Regions from separate parts of the Homo sapiens genome. Here all the other regions are linked to region 1. Evidence: promoter capture Hi-C in 16 types of primary human blood cells and fetal thymus (Javierre and others, 2016). All regions are on one chromosome and are shown on one strand. The core of a region is centred on a gene start or on the middle of the fragment in contact, and the rest is flanking DNA. Distances in the headings are between cores, read along the strand shown.

Region 1 (3,665 bases), core at 1,166-3,665:
CACCTGTTATCCCATGGGACCCACTGCAGGGGCAGCTGGGAGGCTGCAGGCTTCAGGTCCCAGTGGGGTTGCCATCTGCCAGTAGAAACCTGATGTAGAATCAGGGCGCGAGTGTGGACACTGTCCTGAATCTCAATGTCTCAGTGTGTGCTGAAACATGTAGAAATTAAAGTCCATCCCTCCTACTCTACTGGGATTGAGCCCCTTCCCTATCCCCCCCCAGGGGCAGAGGAGTTCCTCTCACTCCTGTGGAGGAAGGAATGATACTTTGTTATTTTTCACTGCTGGTACTGAATCCACTGTTTCATTTGTTGGTTTGTTTGTTTTGTTTTGAGAGGCAGTTTCACTCTTGTTGCTCAGGCTGGAGGGAGTGCAATGGCGCGATCTTGGCTTACTGCAGCCTCTGCCTCCCAGGTTCAAGTGATTCTCCTGCTTCCGCCTCCCATTTGGCTGGGATTACAGGCACCCGCCACCATGCCCAGCTAATTTTTTGTATTTTTAGTAGAGACGGGGGTGGGGGTGGGGTTCACCATGTTGGCCAGGCTGGTCTCGAACTTCTGACCTCAGATGATCCACCTGCCTCTGCCTCCTAAAGTGCTGGGATTACAGGTGTGAGCCACCATGCCCAGCTCAGAATTTACTCTGTTTAGAAACATCTGGGTCTGAGGTAGGAAGCTCACCCCACTCAAGTGTTGTGGTGTTTTAAGCCAATGATAGAATTTTTTTATTGTTGTTAGAACACTCTTGATGTTTTACACTGTGATGACTAAGACATCATCAGCTTTTCAAAGACACACTAACTGCACCCATAATACTGGGGTGTCTTCTGGGTATCAGCGATCTTCATTGAATGCCGGGAGGCGTTTCCTCGCCATGCACATGGTGTTAATTACTCCAGCATAATCTTCTGCTTCCATTTCTTCTCTTCCCTCTTTTAAAATTGTGTTTTCTATGTTGGCTTCTCTGCAGAGAACCAGTGTAAGCTACAACTTAACTTTTGTTGGAACAAATTTTCCAAACCGCCCCTTTGCCCTAGTGGCAGAGACAATTCACAAACACAGCCCTTTAAAAAGGCTTAGGGATCACTAAGGGGATTTCTAGAAGAGCGACCTGTAATCCTAAGTATTTACAAGACGAGGCTAACCTCCAGCGAGCGTGACAGCCCAGGGAGGGTGCGAGGCCTGTTCAAATGCTAGCTCCATAAATAAAGCAATTTCCTCCGGCAGTTTCTGAAAGTAGGAAAGGTTACATTTAAGGTTGCGTTTGTTAGCATTTCAGTGTTTGCCGACCTCAGCTACAGCATCCCTGCAAGGCCTCGGGAGACCCAGAAGTTTCTCGCCCCTTAGATCCAAACTTGAGCAACCCGGAGTCTGGATTCCTGGGAAGTCCTCAGCTGTCCTGCGGTTGTGCCGGGGCCCCAGGTCTGGAGGGGACCAGTGGCCGTGTGGCTTCTACTGCTGGGCTGGAAGTCGGGCCTCCTAGCTCTGCAGTCCGAGGCTTGGAGCCAGGTGCCTGGACCCCGAGGTTGCCCTCCACCCTGTGCGGGCGGGATGTGACCAGATGTTGGCCTCATCTGCCAGACAGAGTGCCGGGGCCCAGGGTCAAGGCCGTTGTGGCTGGTGTGAGGCGCCCGGTGCGCGGCCAGCAGGAGCGCCTGGCTCCATTTCCCACCCTTTCTCGACGGGACCGCCCCGGTGGGTGATTAACAGATTTGGGGTGGTTTGCTCATGGTGGGGACCCCTCGCCGCCTGAGAACCTGCAAAGAGAAATGACGGGCCTGTGTCAAGGAGCCCAAGTCGCGGGGAAGTGTTGCAGGGAGGCACTCCGGGAGGTCCCGCGTGCCCGTCCAGGGAGCAATGCGTCCTCGGGTTCGTCCCCAGCCGCGTCTACGCGCCTCCGTCCTCCCCTTCACGTCCGGCATTCGTGGTGCCCGGAGCCCGACGCCCCGCGTCCGGACCTGGAGGCAGCCCTGGGTCTCCGGATCAGGCCAGCGGCCAAAGGGTCGCCGCACGCACCTGTTCCCAGGGCCTCCACATCATGGCCCCTCCCTCGGGTTACCCCACAGCCTAGGCCGATTCGACCTCTCTCCGCTGGGGCCCTCGCTGGCGTCCCTGCACCCTGGGAGCGCGAGCGGCGCGCGGGCGGGGAAGCGCGGCCCAGACCCCCGGGTCCGCCCGGAGCAGCTGCGCTGTCGGGGCCAGGCCGGGCTCCCAGTGGATTCGCGGGCACAGACGCCCAGGACCGCGCTTCCCACGTGGCGGAGGGACTGGGGACCCGGGCACCCGTCCTGCCCCTTCACCTTCCAGCTCCGCCTCCTCCGCGCGGACCCCGCCCCGTCCCGACCCCTCCCGGGTCCCCGGCCCAGCCCCCTCCGGGCCCTCCCAGCCCCTCCCCTTCCTTTCCGCGGCCCCGCCCTCTCCTCGCGGCGCGAGTTTCAGGCAGCGCTGCGTCCTGCTGCGCACGTGGGAAGCCCTGGCCCCGGCCACCCCCGCGATGCCGCGCGCTCCCCGCTGCCGAGCCGTGCGCTCCCTGCTGCGCAGCCACTACCGCGAGGTGCTGCCGCTGGCCACGTTCGTGCGGCGCCTGGGGCCCCAGGGCTGGCGGCTGGTGCAGCGCGGGGACCCGGCGGCTTTCCGCGCGCTGGTGGCCCAGTGCCTGGTGTGCGTGCCCTGGGACGCACGGCCGCCCCCCGCCGCCCCCTCCTTCCGCCAGGTGGGCCTCCCCGGGGTCGGCGTCCGGCTGGGGTTGAGGGCGGCCGGGGGGAACCAGCGACATGCGGAGAGCAGCGCAGGCGACTCAGGGCGCTTCCCCCGCAGGTGTCCTGCCTGAAGGAGCTGGTGGCCCGAGTGCTGCAGAGGCTGTGCGAGCGCGGCGCGAAGAACGTGCTGGCCTTCGGCTTCGCGCTGCTGGACGGGGCCCGCGGGGGCCCCCCCGAGGCCTTCACCACCAGCGTGCGCAGCTACCTGCCCAACACGGTGACCGACGCACTGCGGGGGAGCGGGGCGTGGGGGCTGCTGCTGCGCCGCGTGGGCGACGACGTGCTGGTTCACCTGCTGGCACGCTGCGCGCTCTTTGTGCTGGTGGCTCCCAGCTGCGCCTACCAGGTGTGCGGGCCGCCGCTGTACCAGCTCGGCGCTGCCACTCAGGCCCGGCCCCCGCCACACGCTAGTGGACCCCGAAGGCGTCTGGGATGCGAACGGGCCTGGAACCATAGCGTCAGGGAGGCCGGGGTCCCCCTGGGCCTGCCAGCCCCGGGTGCGAGGAGGCGCGGGGGCAGTGCCAGCCGAAGTCTGCCGTTGCCCAAGAGGCCCAGGCGTGGCGCTGCCCCTGAGCCGGAGCGGACGCCCGTTGGGCAGGGGTCCTGGGCCCACCCGGGCAGGACGCGTGGACCGAGTGACCGTGGTTTCTGTGTGGTGTCACCTGCCAGACCCGCCGAAGAAGCCACCTCTTTGGAGGGTGCGCTCTCTGGCACGCGCCACTCCCACCCATCCGTGGGCCGCCAGCACCACGCGGGCCCCCCATCCACATCGCGGCCACCACGTCCCTGGGACACGCCTTGTCCCCCGGTGTACGCCGAGACCAAGCACTTCCTCTACTCCTCAGGCGACAAGGAGCAGCTGCGGCCCTCCTTCCTACTCAGCTCTCTGAGGCCCAGCCTGACTGGC
Region 2 (3,665 bases), core at 376-2,875, 440 kb after region 1:
TTACTGTCCTCCGTGGCGTCTGTCCCCGCTGCTCATTGTCCTCCGTGGGGTCTGTCCCCCTGGCTCACTGTCCTCTGTGGAGTCTGTCCCCGCTGCTCGTTGTCCTCTGTGGGGTCTGTCTCCCTGGCTTGCTCACATTTTCTCTAATTTGGATGTATTACTTTTTCCAATCATCCTTTCCAGCTCTTGGTGCACAGTTTCGACCTGAAGTCTTCAGTCTTCTCAAAGTTCTTCAGTGTTTTCTTTTTTCTCTCACAGACTCTCCACCTTTCTGTTCTGAAATCCTGACAGATGAACGTGTTGTCTCCAGGCTCAAGGCTCAAGGCCGCTGAGCGATTCCCCTCTTCTCCTCTCTAAGATCTGTGGTCCTTCCTGGATTTGATATTCCAGGTTTTACCAATGTGACTTGGCGACATCATTTCTGTTTGTTGGCACTTTCATTTGGGTTTTGTTTTTAACTGGGAATTGTGTTTTTAATGTACAGGGTTGTCTTTCTGTGTTTCTATTTCCTTCCTTGGTAACTTTGACTTTTCTTTCTTTCTTTTTTTTTTTTTTGAGATGGAGTCTCCCTCTGTTGCCCAGGCTGGAATGCAGTGGTGCAATCTTGGCTCACTGCAGCCTCGACCTCCCAGGTTCAAACGATTCTCATGCCTCAGCCTCCCGAGTAGCTGGGATTAGAGGCATGTGCCACCATGCCCTGCTAATCTTTGTATTTTTAGTAGAGACAGGGTTTCGCCGTGTTGCCCAGGCTGGTCTGGAACTCCTGACCTCAGGTGATAGGCACGCCTCGGCTTCCCACAGTGCTGGGATTACAGGCGTGAGCCCCCGCGCCCGGCCAAAGAACCATGGTCCTGTTTCATAACTGTGAGTCTCTCGGGTCTCCCAGAGACATTCTTGTGTGACTCAAGCCCCAGGGTCCTGTGGCCCCGCATCCGCCTGGTGTCACATTTAGAGGACCAGGGAGGAGCCACCAAAGGCAGCGCAGAGCCACTGTATCATGGACGTTCACGACTGCAAGAACGAAGAATTGTTAACTATTTCTCAATGTCTCTCTTCTCAAAGAAATACATTTAATATCAACTTCATTTTCTGAAGGTTTTTTCCCAAAGAGACAACAAGGACTTTGAGCGAGGCATAACGTGGCGAAGCTTCCTAACCCTCCTCTGTAGAGACCGCCCAGCCCCTCAAGATCAACCCCCCACCCCGTAGCGGCCGTTGAGTGTCTTTCACTGCCGCTCTGTGACACCACGTCCCTCCCACCCCTGCCGCCCTCCCCACCTGACTGGCCAGGAGCAGCCGCAGCGTGTTCAGAACCTCCCAGCCACTGTCCACCCGGGCGGAGACCCCAGCCCCGCGTGGCTGGACGGGCTTCCCTGTCCTGTGGAAGGGGAGACACACAGGACCCTGTGAAGTGAGCTCTCGGGTCCTGCTCCTCTGGGAAGCTCAGAGAAGCCTCTCAGGGAGGATCTGGCAGGTTTCAGTGTTGCACCAGTGAGTAACGGCTCACGAGCTCTTCAGGCATTGCCTCAGTTTCTCACAGGCGCAGCCCTCTGCTCAGTGTGGCCTCTTTCTGACGTGGGTTTTCTTCTTGCACCTGGGGAGTCCTGGGTGGGCCTGTGTATTCGTGAACGGGTTGTGGGACCTGTCGCTGTGTGGGGGCTGTCGAGCACTCCCCAGAACGTAACAAATCCTCAGGGGAACTGATGGGCGGTCGCGCGGGCACTGGGTCCTCCACACCCTGGAGAGCCGTTTTCCGTTGCCACTCGGCTCTGGCCGGGGTCACATTCTGCAGCATGTCTGTTCATTCCCCTGGGCGGGGCCCTGCACCGACTCCAGCCCAGCCCCTGCTCCCTCTGCGGGGAACGTGGCCCCAGGCAGTGCTGGGCCATTGGCTGTCAGTGCTGGTCCTGGCGGCTGCATTCCCAGTCCCCTTGGTCTCTGTGACAGTGGGCGGGGCCGGCCCTCCCAGGATCTGACGGCGCAGGTCCTCCCCTTCTGTGTCCTGCAGATGGACACCCGCTCCGGGAGCCAGTGTTCCGTCACCCCAGAAGCCATACTCAATAATGAAAAGCTGGTCTTGCCGCCCCGCATCTCCAGAGTGAACGGCTGGTCGTTACCCCTGCACTACTTCCAGGTGGTGACCTGGGCTGTCTTCGTGGGCCTTTCCTCGGCCACCTTCGGGATCTTCATTCCCTTCCTGCCTCACGCGTGGAAATACATTGCCTACGTGGTATCCTTTTCATCGTGGCATGGTCTAAGCGGGAGGGGTTCCTGGAGGAACTTGCGATGGACCTGGCTGTGGGGTCTGGGCCATGGCTGCCCGGTGGCACCAGTCACCTGCCCTGGGCCAGACTATGTCCCCTGAGCCTGCAGGTGGGCCCAGTGGCCACTCATGCTCTGTGCAGCCCCTGCTTAGGGTCAGGACAGGACAGCGTTGGCTGAGGGGGCTCCGGAGAGGGAATCTGTCAGGAGGGACAGCAGCCCCCTGGCGTGGCGCAGGACCCGCCCTGCTGGCAGCCTTCCGCTAAAATCCCTGCGCAGCATTTTGCACATGGCCAGCACCTTTCTCCTTGCCCCTGGTGCCAAGGAGGAACAGCGCCATGCCCCGCAGGTCGGCAGCCTGCGTTTCCATGCCAAGCTTAGGCCACACTGCGAGGGCCTCTGGGCTGCCCTGCGGAGATGGCTGTCAACCCTGAACTCCTGGCTAGAAGGCGGTCCAGGGGCCAGGCAGGGTGACTGGAGGGCCCCGCACTCCACCCCTTCTATTTGGTTGCCATGGAGAGTCTGTGTTTGTCCCAGGGTGAGAGGAGGAGGGAGCCAGGATCTGAGGGCGGGAGCTGACGTCCCAGGCACGGGGAGCCCAGCTTCTCCTGGCTCCAGGGGACAAGGATCCTCTCCCCAGTGCCCCCGCAGCCAGGCTCTGAGCCCAGAGGGCCCAAGAAAGAGGCCCAGGGTCCCTGAGTGAGTCTGGGGTCCTCGAGAGAGTCTGGAGTCCCCGAGAGAGTCCGGAGGGGCCCTGAGGGAGTCTGAGGGGGGTTTCCCTGAGCTATTCTCGGGGAGAGGGTCCCTGAGTGAGCTGTCTGGGGTCTACAGGGAGCGGGTAGGTTGTGCAGCTCCCTCGCTCCTCCCCCTGCTCCTCCTGTCTGAGGCTGTCTTCTCTCCCAGTGCTCAGGGGTCTCTGGTATGAAAGAACCCAGGCTCCTCCAGGGCCTTTGGGGCTGCATCCGGCTGTGTTTATACCTGGGATGTCCCTCCTGTGGCCCTGCTCTGTCCCTCAAGCTGTAAAGGGTTTTGGGGTCACTGTGCTTGGCTGGGCTGACTGAGCCTCTGGGGGTGCGGTACATTCTGTGGGGGATTTGCCCTGTGTCCAACAGGGATGAACCAAAAGGGGCACGGGGGCAGCCTTCCCGGTCCCCGACTGGCACAGGGCTGTGTATGCAGGGCCAATGGGTAGCCTCATCTTCTCTAGGCCTGGGTAAGCAGGGCTGTGTGTGCAGGGCCGACGGGTGGACTCATCTCCTCTAGATCTGGGTGAGCAGGGCTGTGTGTGCAGGGCCATGTGTGAAGGGCCGGGTGTATAGGGCCGTGTGTGCAAGACTGGATGAGCAGGGCCATGTGAGCAGGGCCGGGCATGGGTGAGCTGGGCTCGGGTGAGCAGGGCTGGG
Region 3 (3,665 bases), core at 576-3,075, 400 kb before region 1:
AAAGAATGATTCCATGGTACTTTCAAAGGAGAAAGAAAACTGGACACATGAGTGACTTTCCACAGAAATTATGGAAGTCGTGGGGCAATGGAATGCTACCTGTGAACAGTGAAAGGAAAGGAAAGAAACCACCAGCCTAAAATTCCACCTGCAGCAAGATAGTCTGTAGGGCAGGGGCCCTCAACCCCTGGGCCATGGACCAGCCCTGGTGCATGACCTGTTAAGAACTGGGCAGCACAGCAGGAGGTGAGCTGGGGCGAGTGAGCAAAGCCTCACCTGTGTTTACAGCCACTCCCCATCGCTCACATTACCACCTGAGCTCCACCTCCTGTCAGATCAGCGGCAACATTAGATTCTTATAGGAGCACGAACCCTATTGTGAACTGTGCATGTGAGGGATCTGGGTGGCACGCTCACTGTGAGAATCTACTGCCTGATGATCTGAGGCTACTGCTGGGGAGCTGCTGCAAATGAAGATTAACATTAGCAGAGAGGTCTGACTGCACAGAGACCCTAATAAATCAATTGGTTGCAGACTCATAGCAAAACCCTATTAGTGATTGGCAAGTGACAATTAAGCTGCATCTGGTGGCAGGCTTTAAGTTGGAATCCTACACTTATTTTAGTCCATGTGAGGCCCACCCATTATTTTATTTACCACTTCTGTTCATGCCTCTTTCCCGCACTGCACGCTTGTCTCAGTCACAGTTTTGGTAAGCCCACGAGCTAACCCTAGCCAAAACGAGTAAAAAAGAAACATCACAGGAGGGCTTTGAAAAGGGGGAAAGTCCCAATGGTTAGGCAGCAGAAGACTCTATGACTGCCAATGAGAAGCAAGCTGCATTTAATAGAAAATACCACGAATCCCACTTAAATTGCAGGTTCATTCCAACAGGTGATTCACATTTTCCAAGCCCACTTGCAATGTAATATGTGATGACTATCCAATGAAGCCATGAAACCTTCAAAACTGCTTCGCCATATGAAGACCAAGCACCCTGCGTTAAAAGACCAGCCTTTGGAGTTTTTCAAAAGGAAAAAAGAAAAGTGTGACCACGAAGAACAGAAGCAATGATTGAAGGCCACCACTTCAAATGTGTCTGCACTGAGAGCATCATTCTTACTGGCTAACTGCATTGCTAAAGCTAAGAAGCCCTTTACTGTTGGTGAACAGCTGATCTTGCCTGCGCTAAGGACATTTGTCGTGAACTTTTAGGAGAGGCTGCAGCTCAAAAGGTGGCACGTGTTCCTCTTTTGGCTAGCACCGTACCTAGAGGAATTGAGAAAATTCCAGAGGATATTGAGGCACAATTGTCAGAGACGATTAATGAGTCACCGTGGTACACAAGCCAGGCTGATGAGTCTACTGATGTTGACAGCAAGGCAACAATGCTTGTTGTTGTGAGATCCGTTTTCAGGAGGCTGTGCACGAGGTTATGTTAGGTGCACTTTTGTTGCCAACCAACACCACAGCTGCAGAACTATTCAAGTCTTTCAATGATTATGTATCAGGAAAACTGAACTGGCCATTTTGTGTCAGTGTACACACAGAGGGAGTGGCTGCCATGACTGGATGGCTTTCTGGTTTCACTACTTGTGTCAAAGAGGTCGCTTCTGGATGTAAGTCTATGCACTGTGTCATCCACAGAGAAATGCTGGGTAGCTGGAAAATGTTGCCTCAACTTAATAAAGTTTTGCAGTATGTGATTAAAGTTATCAACCTCATTAAAGTACATGCCCTTAACTCATGTCTGTTCACGCAGCTCTGTGAGGAGACGGATGCAGAGCACACACGTCTTCTCTGAAATACATGTGCTTACAGTGACACATGTGTGACAGGAGTGAGATGGCTCCTCTGATATGCAGAAATGAGGTGGCTTTCTAAAGGTAGATCACTGGCCGAGATTTTGAGTTATGAGAGCCACTCCAGAGATTTCTTTTAGAAAAACAGTCACCACTGGCAACACATTTCAGTGACATAGAATGGGCTACAAATGTTGCTTACTTGTGTGACATATTCAACCAGCAACACAAACCGTCACTTCAGGGAGAGGGACAACTGTGTTCAAGTCAGGAGATAAAGTGGCTGCATTAAAAGTCAGACTGGAATTATGGGTCAATGAGTGAACACTGGGACTTCTGACATGTTTCAAACATTAGCGGAGGTTTTGTTTGGAAAGAGACTGAGCCAGGGCCTTCTTTCCCCCAGCTGGTGCATGATCACCTTTCAGCTTCCAAAAGAGCTTGAGCATTACTTCCCAACTACAAAAGAACCCCGAACTGGGAAGGAATGGATCCGTGACCCATTTGTGAATAAGCCAGGTGAATCGACTTTGTCCTTGCTAGAAGAGGGTCGGCTGCTTGAGATCACAAATAATGGTGGCCTTACAAGTGTGTTTGAGACAACTTCAAATCTCCATATGTTCTGGACTAAAGTCAAGGTGGAATATCCTGAGATTGCCACAAACGCACTGAAAAACCTGCTTCCATGCCCAACATCCTGTCTTTGTGAAGCAGAGTTTTCTGCAGTGACAGCAACCAAAACGAGATTACAGAGTACACCGGACATAAGCAACACACTTTGGGGGTGACTGTCTCCATCACTCCCAGATGGGACCATCGAGTTGCAGGAAAACAAGCTCAGGGCTCCCACTGATTATACGTGATAGTGAGCTGTATAATTATTTCAGTATATAATACAATGTAATAATTACTAGGTTGGTTCAAAAGTAATTGCGGTTTTTGCCATTAAAAGTAATCTCTGGTGCCAAAAAATGTTGGGGACTGCTGCTTTAAATCATGCAGGTGGAATAAAGATGTGGTTATTTAAAAAGTTGAGAAAATTTATCTGCAACATACTTGCCTTACAAGGCATACTAAAGCCACATTTTTCAGCTCAAGGAAAATGTTCATGGGGGAAAGGATGAAAGGAATGAAGAGCACCACAAAGGATAACTGTTAGGGGCAGTGTGAGTGTATGGATTGTTTAAAGTGATCTTCTGGTGTTTGCAACGAACACAGAAGTAAAATATATGACTACAATGGCATTAAAGGAAATGCGAGCGGGGGCACGACAGACCACTCATAAGATCCTTCAACTGCTTGGGAAGTGATAAAAGTATTCGTTTCAGGTAGGTGTTTTGTTTTGTTTTGTTTTTTGTTTTTTTTCCCCCCACAGGGTCTCGCTCTGTCACCCAGGCTGCAGTGCAGTGGCACAATCATGGCTCACTGCAGCCAAAACCTCCCAGGCTCAGGTGATTCTCCTTCTCAGTCGTCTGAGTAGCTGGGACTACAGGTGCCCACCACTATGCTTGGCTTATTTTTCTTAACATCTTTTGTAGAGAACAGGGTCTTACTTTGTTGCCCAGGCTGCTCTCAAATTCCTGGGCTCAGGCAATCCTCCTGCCTTTGCCTCCCAAAGTGCTGGAATTACAGGCGTCAGCCACTGTGCCTGGCCTAAGGTAGGTTTTTATACTTCAACTATGCAAATAATAAACTATAGGGAAATAAAAAATATATAACTATAGTGCCAATAAAGTGGGGATAAATAAAGTAAAGAAGACACATGGAATAAACAGAAAATAAATTATAAGATTTTAGAATGACCATTCAACTATGAATATAAGTAAATTTAAAGGACTAACTTCATTATGACCAAGCTTGCC
Region 4 (3,665 bases), core at 200-2,699, 390 kb after region 1:
CACTCTTCTTGCACGCCTGCCTGCCAAGCGTCCCCTAGCATGATGTGGGCGGCAAGCCACCCAGGTGCCGAGGCAAGAGACCGAGGGCACGAGCTGTTCCAGTATAATAAAATAAATAAAATAAGAATAATTATACTAGATATAGATCTTAGATATGATTATATATGAATATTAATCATTAATTTGTAGCAATTACTCTTTATTCCAATATTATAATAATCCTTGCTCTACAATCATAACCTAGGAAAAACCAGGCCATACAGAGATAGGAGCTGAGGGGACATAGTGAGAAGTGACTAGAAGACAAGAGTGCGAGCCTTCTGTTATGCCTGGACAGGGCCACCAGAGGGCTCCTTGGTCTAGCAGTAATGCCAGCGTCTGGGAAGAAGCCCGCTGCCAAGCTGACCGTGGTCTAATGGTAGCGTCAGTGTCAAGGAAAAACACCTGCTACTTAGCAGACCGGGAAAGGGAGTCTCCCTTTCCCCCGGGGAGTTTAGAGAAGACTCTACCCCTCCACCTCTTGTGGAGGGCCTGACATTAGTCAGACCCGCCCGCAGTCATCCAGAGGCCTGTCTCCCTGTGATGCTGTGCTTCAGTGGTCATGCTCCTAGTCCGCCTTCATGTTCCATCCTGTACACCTGGCTCTGCCTTTTAGCTAGCAGTAGCAAATTAGTGAAAGTACTAAAAGTCTCTGATATGCAGAAATAATGGTGTAAGCCGTCTCTCTGTTTCTCTTCTCTCTCTCTGCCTCAGCTGCCAGGCAGGGAAGGGTCCCCTGTCCAGTGGACACGTGACCCACGTGACCTTACCTATCAGTGGAGATGGCTCACACTCCTTACCCTGCCCCTTTGTCTTGTATCCAATATATATCAGCGCAGCCTGGCATTCGGGGCCACTACCGGTCTCCGCGTCTTGGTGGTAGTGGTCCCCCAGGCCCAGCTGTCTTTTATCTCTTTGTCTTGTGTCTTTATTTCTACACTCTCTCGTCTTTGCACATGGGGAGAAAACTCACCAACCCTGTGGGGCTGGACCCTACAAAAGATGCCTCACAGAAGCTGCGAGGTGACCAATATGGAAAAAGGAAAGCATCTAACAGAAAATGGAGACATACAACTCTAATTTTCTGCAGGTATTTTCAAGAATTAAAGAGGAAATACGTAACTGGTTCCAAACAGAAACAACTTATTTCACTAATTAAAACACCTGCTGCTTACTCTGACTGTGCTATGAGGGCAGTATGCGGGGCCTGTCTGCTCTTTAAAAGAACATTGTGTTTTAAGGTCACTTTGTCACGCAATCTTAACTGACTTAAAGAAGCCAAGTACCCTTCAAGCTTCTATTTAACACTTGGCTACAGTTTCATACTCTCGAGTCCACTCAATTCCCGTGTCCCCATTCTACCCGGTGATATTGACAACAAAACAAAACAAAACCAAACAACAAACCATCAGTATTTTCTCCTGAGAAGAACCAGACAGAATTTCTTTAAAATATGGCTTTTTCAGTTTACTCCTCACAAAGTAAAGCTCTGAGTACTACAAGCCTAATTTATAAGTTAAGCTTTATCATAGGAATGTCTGTAGGAAAAAATAGTCTACATAAGGTTTAGTATTATCCACGTTTGGGGCATCTGAGGATGTCTTGGAATGTGGCCCCCCACAGGAAGACTTGATTAAGTGCCGAGTAATCAATGCCCCAGGGGCCGCGCGCGGTGGCTCAAGCCTGTAATCCCAGCACTTTGGGAGGCTGAGGCGGGCGGATCACCTGAGGTCAGGAGTTTGAGACCAGCCTGGTCAACGTGGTGAAACCCCGTCTCTACTAAAAATACAAAACTTAGCTGGGTGTGGTGGCGCATGCCTGTAATCCCAGCTACTCGGGAGGCTGAGGTAGGAGAGTTGCTGGAACCTGGGAGGAACCCAGGAAGTGGAGGTTGCAGTGAGCCGAGATCGGGCCACTGCACTCCAGCCTGGTCGACAGCGAGACTCTGTCTCAAAAACAAAAACAAACAAACAAACAAAAAATGTCCCAAGTGTCATGAGCTGGATCTGCTTCACAGAGAGGGGACATTCTAGGACAGCTGTGGCTCCTTCAGAAAACAAAGAGCCGTAACTCCTTGCAGAAGGACGAAGGTACAAGTAAAGGCTAAATTTCATGCCACTTATCTGGTCAAATAAAAGCCTGCATAATTTACCGTGGAGCAGCACCACCCGGTTCCAGGTGATGAGGTTGCTGTTGACGTTCTTGTCTGAAAACAGTAAAGTTGTCATCACATAATCGAGGAGCTGATAGAGAAAAAGAAAAGAGCTTGACAAAGATACCAACAAGGCAAAGGTCCCCAAGAAATGTGCCCTCCCCCAGGGCTTAATCCTACATGAGAAGAGGGAGCACAGGGAGCGAGGCCGCCTCCTAAGAGATCATCACCTCCAAACGCTTTCATTTCAGAAGAGAAGGTGCTTCCAAAAGGGAAAAGGAAAAACACTGGCTATTACTATTATAAATATAAGAAGAGCAACAAAATGATCACTTTTATTTAAAGTGCCAACATTAAACAAAACCACTAAGGGGTTTGTTTATCAAGTAATGAGTAAGCTCCTTCCCTAGAATGATACAGCAGTTATTATTCGCAAAATAACAACAGCCACAATGCAGAGGAGCAGTCTGAGTGATAGTCTCAGACTATCAATGCAGAGGACAGCTGAGTGATAGTCTTCTAGCCAGCTGCTGGCATGGGAAAGACCCTTCCCGTTGAAGAGGGTGCAGGGGTTAAGACACACCGGCCTTTCCTTTGTGCGGACCAGGCTTGCTCACCTTCCCTCCTCCCATCTCCAGAGGGTTTAATTCTCTAAGTTGCCTTCACGTTCTCCCTTTCCCTCTTCTCCCTCAGGGAGCTCCTCAGAGACCAGCTCTACTCTGGAGCAATACTAGAGGATAGATGTCCAGGACAAGGGCTGCCAGCAGACAGGGGCTCCCAAAAACCCATCTGCATCAAGTTGCTCAGGGGTGTTGGAGAGCAAAACAGTAATGGTTCCTCTTCAAATAACAGGGCATTCTGGGAAAAGGCACAGCAACTTACATGGGATTTGACTTCCACATCGTATACCAAGCTGTCCCAAAGCCCATGGAATTCAGCTGTGACAGAATTAAACAAAGACCTGATTTCAGGAAGGCAAGCAATTACAGCCACCCCCAGTCAGTCTCCCCTGAGCCTAAGCCTGAGCTTCCCATTGTGCTGCTCCAGGCAAGACTATGATTCTGATTACAGGAAAGTATAAATTCTGCAAATTTTTCTTCAAATTTTGATTTTTATTAAAATCAAAGATGCAAAATAAATGCCAGTCACATGTAACTTCTGGCAGACAACTGGATGGAGTCAAAGAATTACACTTTACGTCTCATTATCACGCACAATTGTCTTTTAAAAAAACTTTAACTTCCCATCCTTCTTTAAGGTATTGTTGTCATTTATTTTCCATTGACGTATAACATAATCCCCACAATATGTTTTCATTAAACTATCATTTTTTGGTGGTGAACAACACATTATAAAATTTATGATCATAGCCACTTACAATTGTCTTTTATCCATATGCTTCAGCACAAGTCCAGATGCCAAATCCACCTGTTTCCCCACACACTGACTGAATGAAGCCCTGGGCTTGGCCTGC
Region 5 (3,665 bases), core at 616-3,115, 390 kb before region 1:
TTGTTGTGCGTTTTCTTAGTGCCATTTGTTCTTTCTTGTTTCTTTTTCTGCAACCATATGGATTGGGTATTTTTCAGCATTTCATTTTGCTTTCTGTTGACATATTAGTGATTACTCTTCATTTTATTTGTGTAGTTTTGATGGTTCAATGTATCTTTTATCCAGTTTACCTTTGCAAAACATTACACCACTGCGTGTATAAAAATATAACCACGTACTTCAATTTCCTCCTTCCTGACCTTTACACTAATTTTGACATACGTTGTACATCTACATATGCTATATGTTATCCAATACATTGTCATCATTTTTGCTTTAAATTGTCAATCATTATTTTAATACACTGAAAGAATGTTTAGAATATTTTAAATTTACGCACATATTTATTATTCCTAATGGTCTTAATTCCTTCAAGTAGATGGAGTTTTGATCTATCTTTTTCTTTTTCTACCTTGAAGAAATGCCTTTAATGATTTTTTTTTTTTTTTTTTTTTTGAGACGGAGTCTCGCTCTGTCGCCCAGGCTGGAGTGCAGTGGCGGGATCTCGGCTCACTGCAAGCTCCGCCTCCCGGGTTCACGCCATTCTCCTGCCTCAGCCTCCCAAGTAGCTGGGACTACAGGCGCCCGCCACTACGCCCGGCTAATTTTTTTTGTATTTTTAGTAGAGACGGGGTTTCACCGTTTTAGCCGGGATGGTCTCGATCTCCTGACCTCGTGATCCGCCCGCCTCGGCCTCCCAAAGTGCTGGGATTACAGGCGTGAGCCACCGCGCCCCGCCTTAATGATTTTTGAATTACCAGTTCTGCTGGTAGTAAAAGCTGGTATCAGCTGGAATTCACTTTATTTTGCCTTATTTCTATAAGGAAATTTTAACTAGATATAGAATTCTGAATTGACTTTGTGAAAAAAAAAATCATTACTTTGGGAGGGATCTTCAAGATGGCTCCAAAGGAACACTAGAGGCCGCTGACACTCACCCCATCCACAAAGAAGGACCAAAGCAGAGAGCAGATAGCCACGTGTCAAGTGGAGCATCTAGGAGGGACACTAGAGACCAGGAGGGACACGGCAGGGGAAATCTGAGGCACGGAAGGAGAGGGTAGCAAGTCACTTCCCTGGCTGGGACTGGCAAGGAGCCTGGAAAGTGTCCGTGTGAGATTTCCCACGCTCCACATCCCGACCACAGACCCTGCAATCCGAGTCACAGGAGAGCCCCTCAGCCTCATGGGCACTGAGTCTAGTACAGAGAGCTGCCTGGAGTCCATGTGACACCACTGTTCCTGAGAGGAAGTTCATGCAGGGTCCCACATACTCCCAGGGACCCAAGCAGCTGCAGCACAGCACTGTTTTGAGAGCCCAGCTGCCACCAGGCTGCATTTTGACCTGGGGCCCAGCAGCCCCTGCCTCTTCACATCTCCAGATCCCCAGTGACACCCTGGGTCCACTCACCCTGTCTATCACCATGCACATGTGTCCAGACCATCAAGAGGCCTGAAAAAAGTCCCAGGACACTAGCCACTGGCACCCAAGCAAACTGCCTGGAGGTCCAAGAATCAGCCCACCTGGACCCACTAACACTAGTGTTCACCTGTATCATCCAGGGGCTGAAAGACAGACATGACTGGCCTGCTGCCACCAGGCTATACTTATCGGATAAAACAGACTTGATATACTTTGGATTTTTTTCCCCACCCAAATCTTATGTTGAAATGTAATCCCCAATGTTGGAGTTAAGGCCTGGTGGGAGATGTCTGGATCATGAAGGCAGATTCCTCATAAATGGCTTGGGCCATCTCCTTGGTGATAAGTGAGTTCTTGCTCTGAGTTCACATGAGATACAATCATTTAGAAGTGTGTGGCACCTCCCTGACCCCCGGCTGTCTCTCTCTTGCTCCTGGTCTAGCCATGTGATGTGCCTGCTCCCTGTCATCTCCCACCATGATTGTAAGCATCCTGAGGTCTCCTCTAGAAGCCAAGCAGATGCCAGCACCAGGCTTCCTGTATAGTCTGCAGAATCATGAACCAATTAAACCTCTTTTCTTTATGAATTACCCTGTCTCAGGTATTTCTTTCTTTATAGTAATGCAACAATGACCTAATAAAACACTTTAAGTCAAAAACAGTCAAAGAAGACAAAGAAGGTCATGACATAATTTAAAAGGGTTCAATTCAGCCAGAGGATATAACAATTCTAAATATATATGCACCCAACACGGGAACACCCAGATACATAAAGCAAACGTTGTATTTAGAGGGAGAGATAGACTATAATACAATAATATTTGAGGACTTCGACACTCCACTCCTGGCATTAGACAGATCATTGAGACAGAAAATCAACAAAGAAATGTTGGATTAAAACTGCATATTAGATGAAATGGACCTAAGCAACATTTACAGAATGTTTCATTCAATGGCTAGAGAATACACATTCTTCTTATCAGCACATGGGCCATTCTCCAGTATAGACCATAAGTTAGGCCACAAAACAAGTCTCAACAAATTTTTAAAAATCAAAATTATATCAAGTATCTTCTTAGACTGCAACATAATAAAACTGGAAATCAATAACAAGAAGGACTTTGGAAACAGTACAAATATGTGGATATTAAACAATATGTTTCTGAATGCCTATTGGGTCAATGAAGAAATTAAGAAAGAAATCAAAGAATTTCTTAAAACAAATGTAAATGGAAACACAGCACACCAAAACCTATGTGACACAGCAAAATCAGTGCTAAAGGTAAGTTTACAACAATAAACACTTACATCACAAAAGCAGAAAGATTTCAAATAGACAACCCAATGATAAACCTCAAAGAACTAAAAAAGCAATAACAAACCAAATCCAAAATTACTTAATCATAGATAAAAAAGAATAACAAAGATCAGCACAGACCTAAACAAAATACAGACTAAAAAAAACAAAAATCAATGAAAAGAGTTTTTTAAAGAAGATAAACAAAATTAATTAACTGCTAGCCAGATTAACCAAGAAAAAAGAAAGAAGACCCAAATAAACAAAATCTGAAACAAAAAGGAGACATTAAAATTAATACCACAGAAATAAAAAAGACCATCAGAGGCTACTAGGAACAATTATATTTTAATCAATGGGAAACCTAGAAGAAATCGATGACATACAACATACAAAGATTGAACCAATAAGAAACAGAATACCTGAACAGACCAATAATGAGTAACAAGATTGAATTAGTACTAAAAAGTCTCCCAACAAAGAAAAGCCTGGGACAGGATGGCTTTACTGCCGAACTTTACCAAACTTAAATTTAAAAAACAAACACAAATCTTCTCAAACTATTCCAAAAAATTGCAGAGGAAGAAATTCTTTCTAACTTATTCTATGCGGCCAGCATTAGCCCCATACCACACCAGACAAAGACACAACAGAAAACAAAGCTACAGGCCAATATCCCTGATAAACATAGATGCAAAAATTTTCAACAAAACTCAGGCAAACTGAATCCAAAAATGCATCAAAAGATAATACACTGTAATCAATTGGGTTTTGTCCCAGAAATGCAAGGATGGCTCAACACATACAAATCAATAAACATGGTGAATATCACATCAACAGAATAAAGGACAAAAATCACATGATCAATAGATGCAGAAAAGTATTTGACAAAATTTAACATCCTTTC
Region 6 (3,665 bases), core at 397-2,896, 360 kb before region 1:
CTCCAACAGGGAGGGCACTCCTGATATCCTCCCCTGGACCCTTTGCCCTCAGGGCCCCCCACACTGGGTGTGACATAGGGTGGCCCCTGGGAGCACTTGGCTGCTGTCCTGCACAGGGCACCTGGGAGACCCACAGCATCCTCCCTGCACCCGGCCCTCGCCCCACCTCACAGCATCCTGCGAGGCTGGCCAGATCCCATGGCCACACGGCCAGATCATGGATTTCCAAGCCCTGGCTCTCTCCTACATCCTGTTACACTCATGTGGTCCCTGGAGTGGGTTAGGGACAGCATGGCCAGCCTGGCCCTCTGGAGAAGCACGGAACTGTGGTGGGAGCAGGCAGAGGGACAGGCCGCCATGGATTGTTCCAGGACCCCCCATGGCGAGGGACCCCATTCTCCCTGAGAATTTATCTGTTCTTGTCCCACTCTCAGGCTCCTCCTAAGAATGGGCCCTGCCCTTCCCTTGCCCAGCACCTCCCCCACAGCCTCTGCTTGTGCACCCACCCTGCCCCACATTCGGGGGCCTGAGGAGCCCTCACCTTGAGACCCCTCCTCTCGAAAGGTCCCTGACCACCCACCCACTCCAGGCACCCCCTTCTTCCCCAGGGAACTTCCACCCTGTCTGGGCCATTGCTCCAGACCCTCCATCCCCTCATCAACCTTCGGGGCAGGAGATCAAAGAAAAACCAGGCTGCCTTGTTCTCAGCAGGAGCTCAGCAGGAGCCCAGGGCCTGGCAGAGGCTCTTCGGGTCACAGGATGAGCCAAGGAAGGGAAGAGTGACACTGTCCCAGGCCCCGAGGACCCAGGCCCCATGCCCCCATAGGCCCTGCCCCACAGGCCGGTCCTCCCCCAGCCCCACCCCTCCCCAGACCTCATCCCTCCCCAGCCTTACCCTCCCCAGCCCTGACATCTCCAGGCCACCCCTCCCCAGGCATCATCCCTCCCCAGCCTTGCCCTACCCCTGCCCTGCCCTCTGTGGCCCCCCCCTCCCCAGCCCCACCTTCCCCAGGCCTCACCCCTCCCCAGGCCTCATCCCTCCCCCAGCCCCACCCCTCCCCAGCCCTACCTTCTTCCAGCCCCACCTTCCCCAGGCCTCACCCCTCCCCATCCCCCACTCTTCCCAGGCCCTACCCTCCCCAGGCCTCACCCCTCCCCATCCCCCACTCTTCCCAGGCCCTACCCTCCCCAGGCCTCACCCCTCCCCAGGCCTCATCCCTCCCCAGCCCCGCCCTCCCCTGACCCCACTCTCCCCAGCCCCACCCTTTTCTGGCCCTGCCCTCCCCAGGACCCACCCCAGCCCTCACGGTGCGTCTGTCCAGCGAAGCTGTCTGGATCCCATGGCTGCACTGCCAGGTGGTGAGCTTCCAAGCCCTGGGCTCCCAGGACTCTGTCACTTTAGGGATCCCCTCCCACCCACCTCCAAACTCCTCATACCCCCCACCACCCTCACCCGAAGCCCCTGCTTCCCCACACCCGGGATGAACACCCAGTAATTAAGATGTTCAAGTATTTTCTTTCTTTCCATTTCTTTCTATTTACACACCTTCAAATTAAAATTGGAATAAAGTCGTCTGTATAACTTAATGCTCTCACTTAGCACGACCCTCTCATGAGTGTTTTCTCATGTTACTGGAAGTTCTTCAGCAGCACTGTCTACCTGTAGCGGCTGCCGAACACGACAGGATTTGCATTTGCCAGAATCGATTGAACTACTTCCATGAGGTTGGAAAGACGGACATTTAGGCCCTTTATTTCTTTATTTTATTTTTACCAACATTTTCTAAATGCTGCAAAATGAACACCTGGACCGTTTTGTTGTTTACTTGTTTACTCCTCCACATAGATCAGGGGTCTGCAAACGTGCTCTGCAGACAGCTAGAGAGTCAGTATTGTGCTGGGGGCGGGGACGGGGAAGATGGTCTCCACCGCACACTCTTCCTTATTCGCTAATCGTTTTCACAGTAACGGACCATTCCGAGCTCTTGGCCGTGCAGCAACAGGCCACAGAGCGGATTTTGACCACTTGCCAGTTTATCACCCTAAAGGCAGCATTGCTAGGTCAGCCACATTGGAAGGCTTCTGGTGCATATTACCAAACCCCTCTCCAGAACAAAATTATGCTGATACTTTTGCTACTAGTATCTGAAAACGCATATTCCTCTGAATATTTGCCAACATTGACTATTACTATTTTTAAGCAAATTGCTAAATTCATCGTTAAAACTCAAATTGCATCTTCCTGGGTTGTTGTGATTCTATTTCCACATCTAACTTCATTCGATTGCGCCTTCCTTCTTCCCGTAAGACCTCTAGACACTGAGGACATCAGATGTCAAAACCGTCACAGCGTGCTTCCGGTTTTTGTTGGATTTTGTTTGTTTTGTTATGGTGTTTTTTGAAGTGTCACAGGGTTTAATGTCTTTGTAATCAAATCTAAAATTTTTTGAAAAGTGTTTATTGATACATAATAATTGTACATATTTACAGGGCAGTTGTGATATTTTGATTGTGCACACAGCATGTAGTGATCAAATCAGGGTATGTAGTATATCCATCACTTGGAACATCTACTCTTTCTTTCTGTTGGGAAGATTCCAGTTCTTCTAGCTATTTTGAAATATACAGCGGACCAGGTGCAGTGGCTCACACCTGTAATCCCAGCGCTTTAGGAGGCCAAGGCAGGTGGATCACCTGAGGTCAGGAGTTCGAGACCAGCCTGGCCAACATGGCAAAACCCTGTCTCTACTGAAAACACAAAAATTAGCCAGGCATGGTGGCACACACCTGTAATCCCAGCTACTCGGGAGGCTGACAGGAGAATCGTTTGAACCCAGGAGGCGGAGGTTGCAGTGAGCCGAGATCATGCCTCCACTGCACTCCAGCCTGGAGTGAGACTCTGTCAAAAAGAAATAAAGAAAGTAAGAAAGAGAGAAAGAGAGAGAGAGAGAAAGAAAAAGAAAGAGAGAGAGAGAGAGAAAGAGAGAAAGAAAGAGAAAGAAGGAAAAGAAAGAGAGAAAGAGAGAGAGAGAAAGAAAGAAGGGAGGGAGGAAGGGAAGGAAGGAAGGAAGGAAGAAAGGAAGGAAGGAAACAGTAAATGATTGTTGCCTTTGGTCTGTGAACTGTTCTATGGAACATTGGAACTTACTCCTTCCCCTGACTGCATGTTTGTGCCCCGTAACCAGCCTCACTTTCTGTCTGCCTCTCACCCACACACCCTGCCCAGCCTCTGGGAACCACCAGCCAACTCTCTGCCTCTGTGAGAGCCACTCTTTCAGTGCCCACAAATGAGTGAGAACATGGTACATTTGTCTTTCTACCCCGGCTTACTTCCCTTAACATGACAGCCTTCAATTCCATCCATGTTGTTGCAGACGACATGATTTCATTCTTGTGTATGGCTGCAGAGTATTCCATCGCGAATAGATATCACGTGTTCTGTATCCATTCATCCATTGATAGGCACCTAGGTTGATTCCATATCTTTGCCATTGTGAACAGTGCTGCAGTAAACAGGGGGGCCCAGATTCCCTTTCACACAGGATTCCCTTTCCTTTGGATAAATACCCATCAGCGGGGATGGCTGGATCATAGGGTAGCTCTATTTTTAATTTTTTAAGAACTCAATCCTGTTGTCCATAGCGGCTGTACTCATTTACATTCCC
Region 7 (3,665 bases), core at 900-3,399, 260 kb before region 1:
AGACCACAGGAGCCGAGAGTTGAGGTCGCGTGCACGACACCAGGGAAGATGAGGGGCCTCTCTCACCTCGTCCTCCTCCTCTTCCTCCTCTGCCAGGTCCAGGTCTGTCCTCCGCCTTCCCCTTATCCCCACATCACTGCAACCTCACCCTTCCCTCCACATTCTTATTATCCAAGAGAGCAAGTAAAGAACAGTATTTAGTTGAGTTTATTTTTCACTGAGATAAATTTGCATGTAACAAAACTAAGAATAAATCTAATTAGTGATAATCCATCAAGCAGGCTAAAAGATGTAATCTGGATTAGGGAACATTGTATCTTTGTCTGCATCGTTGAAACAGACGACTTTCATGCATATTTATCAATGAGAAAACGAGGCACCAATGTTTTTGCGATGCCTGCTCTAGTGACTGTACAAGAGTCATTTACAATTAACACAGTTACTGAAAATGGAATGTTTGTGAATGGGATTTCTTTTACATAAATGAAGATGTCTTAAAATCCTGTTACCCTGAAAGTTGACTCACTGAATTCTCATTTCATGGATCCAGGAAAGGCTATCCCAGTGTAGCAGGACGAGCCGCAGACAAAATTCCTCAGACACCAGCTTAAAGAAGGAAGAGGTTTGGCTGGGTGCAGTGGCTCATGTCTGTAATCCCAGCACTTTGGGAGGCTGAGATGGGTGGATCACGAGGTCAGGGCATCAAGACCGTCCTGGCTAACATGGTGAAACCCCCTTTCTACTAAAAATACAAAATAGCTGGGCGTGGTGGTGGGCACCTGTAGTCCCAGCTGCTTGGGAGGCTGAGGCAGGAGAATGATGTGAACCTGGGAGATGGAGCTTGCAGTAAGCCGAGATCATGCCACTGCACTCCAGCCTGGGTGACAGATCAAGACTCTGTCTCAAAAAAAAAAAAAAAGAAGGAAGTGGTTTATTCAGTCGGGAGCATCAGCAGACTTGCGTCTTAGGAGCCGAGCTCCCTGAAAAAGAAATTATTGGCCTTTCTAAAGGCTTACACTCTAAGGGGTCCACGTGAAAGGGTCGTGACAAATCGAGCAAGCGTGGGGAACGTGACTGGGGGCTGCATGCATCAGCTAACAGAACAGAAAGTTTCGCGATGCTTTTTCATACAACGTCTGGAATTTACAGATAACACAAGTAGTTTAGGTCAGGGGTTGATGTTATTATTATTTTTTAATTCCTAGGGCTGGGTGGTGGTGCCAAGGTCATCTAGCTATTTATCTTACTTTTGTTTCTTTCCAACTCTTTGCTTTCTCTCTTTCCTCCTGTCTTGTGAACTAGGCAAGGTGGGCAGCAGGAGTAGTAGTGGTCTCCTTCCTTACTAGGTGGACCCCTTCTGAACTTCAACAGTGGCGACTGGTGGTTTCTGTAATGAAATTTCAATTTGACCCTCATCTGAGAAGAGACAGTATCTGGTAACACAAAGCTCAGGAACTGCACACGATCTCTCACGAAAGCTTATGTCCAGTTTCCATCTGGTGCCAGCCCACTCGAAGGGCAGCTAAATGTCACTAGGCAGGTCCTGCTGGCAATAAGTGTGACATAAGATGCAGATTCAGTGAAGCCAGGCCCATCGTACGACAAAAGCTTGTGAGGGTTGGTTTCTCTGTCAGATTCCAGGTTCATAGATAGGATTCAGTGAAGCCAGGCCCATCGTACGACGAAAGCTTGTGAGGGTTGGTTTCTCTGTCAGATTCCAGATTCATAGATAGAAAAGGAGGGGACATTTATGTCTTCTGCCATTATAAAGAGTCATTCTTATATGTTTTAAAATATTGGCTATGTATATAATTTATAGATCTACATGTAGCTCTGTATAATCAATATTGCATACCTAATATATACTATATAGAGATATTATGTAAGTATTATATAAATTATATAGATCTATGTATTTAAAAATGTAGATCTATAGAGAGCTATACAGGTGTACTTTGTCTTGTGGTGTTTTGCTTGATTTTGCTCCATGGATGTTACTTTTTTTACAAACTGAAGGTTTGTGGCAACCGGCGTGGAGCAATTCCACGGGCGCAGTTTTCCCAGCAGCGTGTGCCACCTTCGTGGCTCTGGGTCACATTTTGGTGATTCTTGCCACAGTTCAAACTTCTTCATTAGTATTATATACGCAGTGGCAATCTGTGATCAGGGATCTTCAATGTTACCGACGTAATTGTTTTGGGTGCTATGAACTGCACCCATATAAGACACAAACTTAATAAATGTTTGGTGTGTTCTAGCTGCCCCTGCAGTCAGCCGTTCCCCCACCTCTCTCCCTCTTCCCAATCATTCCTGTTCCCTGACACACAACAATATTGAAATTGGCCCGGTTACTAAACCTTCCATGGCCTCAGAGTGCTCAAAGGAAGAGCCACGACGCCTCACTTTAAATCAAAACCCAGAAATGATTCAGCTTAGCAAGGAAGGCAGGTTGAAAGCTGCGATAGGCTGAAAGCTAAGCGAGGCCTGCACCAGTGAGACAAGTAATGAAGACAAAGGAAAAGTTCTTAAGGGAGATCACAAGTGCTGTTCTAGAGAGTGCATGAATGATGGGAAGTGAACCCGCCTTGTTGCTAATACAGAGAAAGCTTTTGTTTTCTGGATAGACAGTCAAAACAGCAACACCATTCCCTTAAGCCAAACCCTAGTCCAGAGCAGGGCCCTAACTTTCTTCAATTCTGTGAAGGCTGAGACAGGCGAGGAACCTGCAGAGGAAGAGTGGAAGCTGGCAGAGGTGGGTTCATGAGGTTTAAGGAAAGAAGCCGTCTCCATAACATAAAAACGCAAGGTGACGCGGCAGGTGCTGATGGAGAAGCTGCAGCAAGTTACCTTCCGCGTCCAGAAGATCTGGCTAAGATCACTGATGAAGGTGGTTGCGCTTAACAACAGATTTTCAATGTAGATAGAACAGCCTTCTATTGGAAGAACACCATCTAGGACTTTCCTACCTAGAGAGGCCAAGTCAGTGCCTGGCTTCAAAGCTTCAAAGACAGGCTGACGCTCTTGTTAGGAGCTGGTGCAGTGGTGACTTTCATTGGAAGCCGATGCTTATGGATCATTCTGAACATCCCAGGGCCCCTAAAAACCATGCTCAGTCTACCCTGCCTTGCTCTATAGATGCAACGAGAAAACCTGGATGTCAGCATGTCTGTTTACAGCACGGTTTACTGACTATGTTAAGCCCACTGTTGAGAACTACCGCTCAGAAAAAAAGATTCCTTTCAAAATATTACTGCTCACCGACAATGCACCTGGTCACCCAAGAGCTCTGATAGAAATGAACAAGGAGATGAATCTTGTTTCCATGCCTGCTAACTCAACACCCATTCCACAGCCCAAGGACTCATTTCAACTTTCAAGCCTTATTATTTAAGGAATACATTTTTTAAGGCTGTATCTGCCATAGTTAGTGATTCCTCTGATGGATTTGGGAAAAGTAAATTGTAAACCTTCTGGAAAGGATTCACTATTCTAGATGCCACTAAGAACATTCATGATTCATGGGAGGAGGTCAAAGTGTCAGCATGAACAGGCGTTTGGAAGAGGTTCATTCCAATCCTCATGGATGACTTTCAGGGATTCCAGCCTTCAGTGAAGGAAGTCACTGCAGATGTAATAGGAATAGATGTGAGACCAATTACTGCTAA

Evidence for each region. The method cuts DNA at HindIII sites, captures the fragments that hold promoters and counts their contacts. A CHiCAGO score of 5 or more calls a contact.
Region 2: the fragment with the promoter of ZDHHC11 here is called in contact with the fragment with the promoter of TERT in region 1 in 2 of 17 cell types (erythroblasts and monocytes); the score reaches 5.3 in erythroblasts.
Region 3: a fragment that was not itself captured here is called in contact with the fragment with the promoter of TERT in region 1 in 2 of 17 cell types (total B cells and neutrophils); the score reaches 6.1 in total B cells.
Region 4: a contact is called between a fragment that was not itself captured here and the fragment with the promoter of TERT in region 1, in 4 of 17 cell types (fetal thymus, M1 macrophages, non-activated CD4 T cells and 1 more). The highest score is 8.2, in fetal thymus.
Region 5: a fragment that was not itself captured here is called in contact with the fragment with the promoter of TERT in region 1 in 1 of 17 cell types (neutrophils); the score reaches 5.2 in neutrophils.
Region 6: a fragment that was not itself captured here is called in contact with the fragment with the promoter of TERT in region 1 in 8 of 17 cell types (M1 macrophages, neutrophils, naive CD8 T cells and 5 more); the score reaches 7.3 in M1 macrophages.
Region 7: a contact is called between a fragment that was not itself captured here and the fragment with the promoter of TERT in region 1, in 1 of 17 cell types (total B cells). The highest score is 5.5, in total B cells.

The regions. Positions count from the first base shown.
Region 1 is chr5:1,293,818-1,297,482 of GRCh38, reverse strand. It overlaps TERT (telomerase reverse transcriptase), which reads left to right and starts at 2,415. Exons shown (of 16, transcript NM_198253.3): 1 at 2,415-2,712; 2 at 2,817-3,665. The coding sequence starts at 2,494. RefSeq lists silencers at 2,069-2,158, 2,259-2,328, cis regulatory regions at 2,361-2,369, 2,381-2,389, 2,459-2,491, 2,494-2,850, enhancers at 1,738-2,454, 2,425-2,467 and promoters at 2,164-2,855, 1-2,855. The HindIII fragment of the contact is 13,041 bases long and covers 1-3,665 here.
Region 2 is chr5:848,946-852,610 of GRCh38, reverse strand. ZDHHC11 (zDHHC palmitoyltransferase 11) reads left to right here and starts at 1,625. Exons shown (of 13, transcript NM_024786.3): 1 at 1,625-2,230. The coding sequence starts at 2,009. RefSeq lists enhancers at 1,632-2,281, 2,282-2,933. The HindIII fragment of the contact is 1,490 bases long and covers 1,151-2,640 here.
Region 3 is chr5:1,696,196-1,699,860 of GRCh38, reverse strand. No RefSeq gene overlaps it. Among named protein-coding and RNA genes, the nearest start is that of MIR4277, 11 kb to the left of the region's middle. The HindIII fragment of the contact is 3,672 bases long and covers 1-3,661 here.
Region 4 is chr5:899,958-903,622 of GRCh38, reverse strand. It overlaps TRIP13 (thyroid hormone receptor interactor 13), which reads right to left. Exons shown (of 13, transcript NM_004237.4): 4 at 3,074-3,129; 5 at 2,192-2,282. Among named protein-coding and RNA genes, the nearest start is that of TRIP13, 8.9 kb to the right of the region's middle. RefSeq lists a silencer at 235-529. The HindIII fragment of the contact is 227 bases long and covers 1,336-1,562 here.
Region 5 is chr5:1,679,474-1,683,138 of GRCh38, reverse strand. No RefSeq gene overlaps it. Among named protein-coding and RNA genes, the nearest start is that of MIR4277, 28 kb to the left of the region's middle. The HindIII fragment of the contact is 6,095 bases long and covers 1-3,665 here.
Region 6 is chr5:1,649,111-1,652,775 of GRCh38, reverse strand. No RefSeq gene overlaps it. Among named protein-coding and RNA genes, the nearest start is that of MIR4277, 58 kb to the left of the region's middle. The HindIII fragment of the contact is 4,657 bases long and covers 1-3,665 here.
Region 7 is chr5:1,557,980-1,561,644 of GRCh38, reverse strand. No RefSeq gene overlaps it. Among named protein-coding and RNA genes, the nearest start is that of LPCAT1, 36 kb to the right of the region's middle. The HindIII fragment of the contact is 918 bases long and covers 1,691-2,608 here.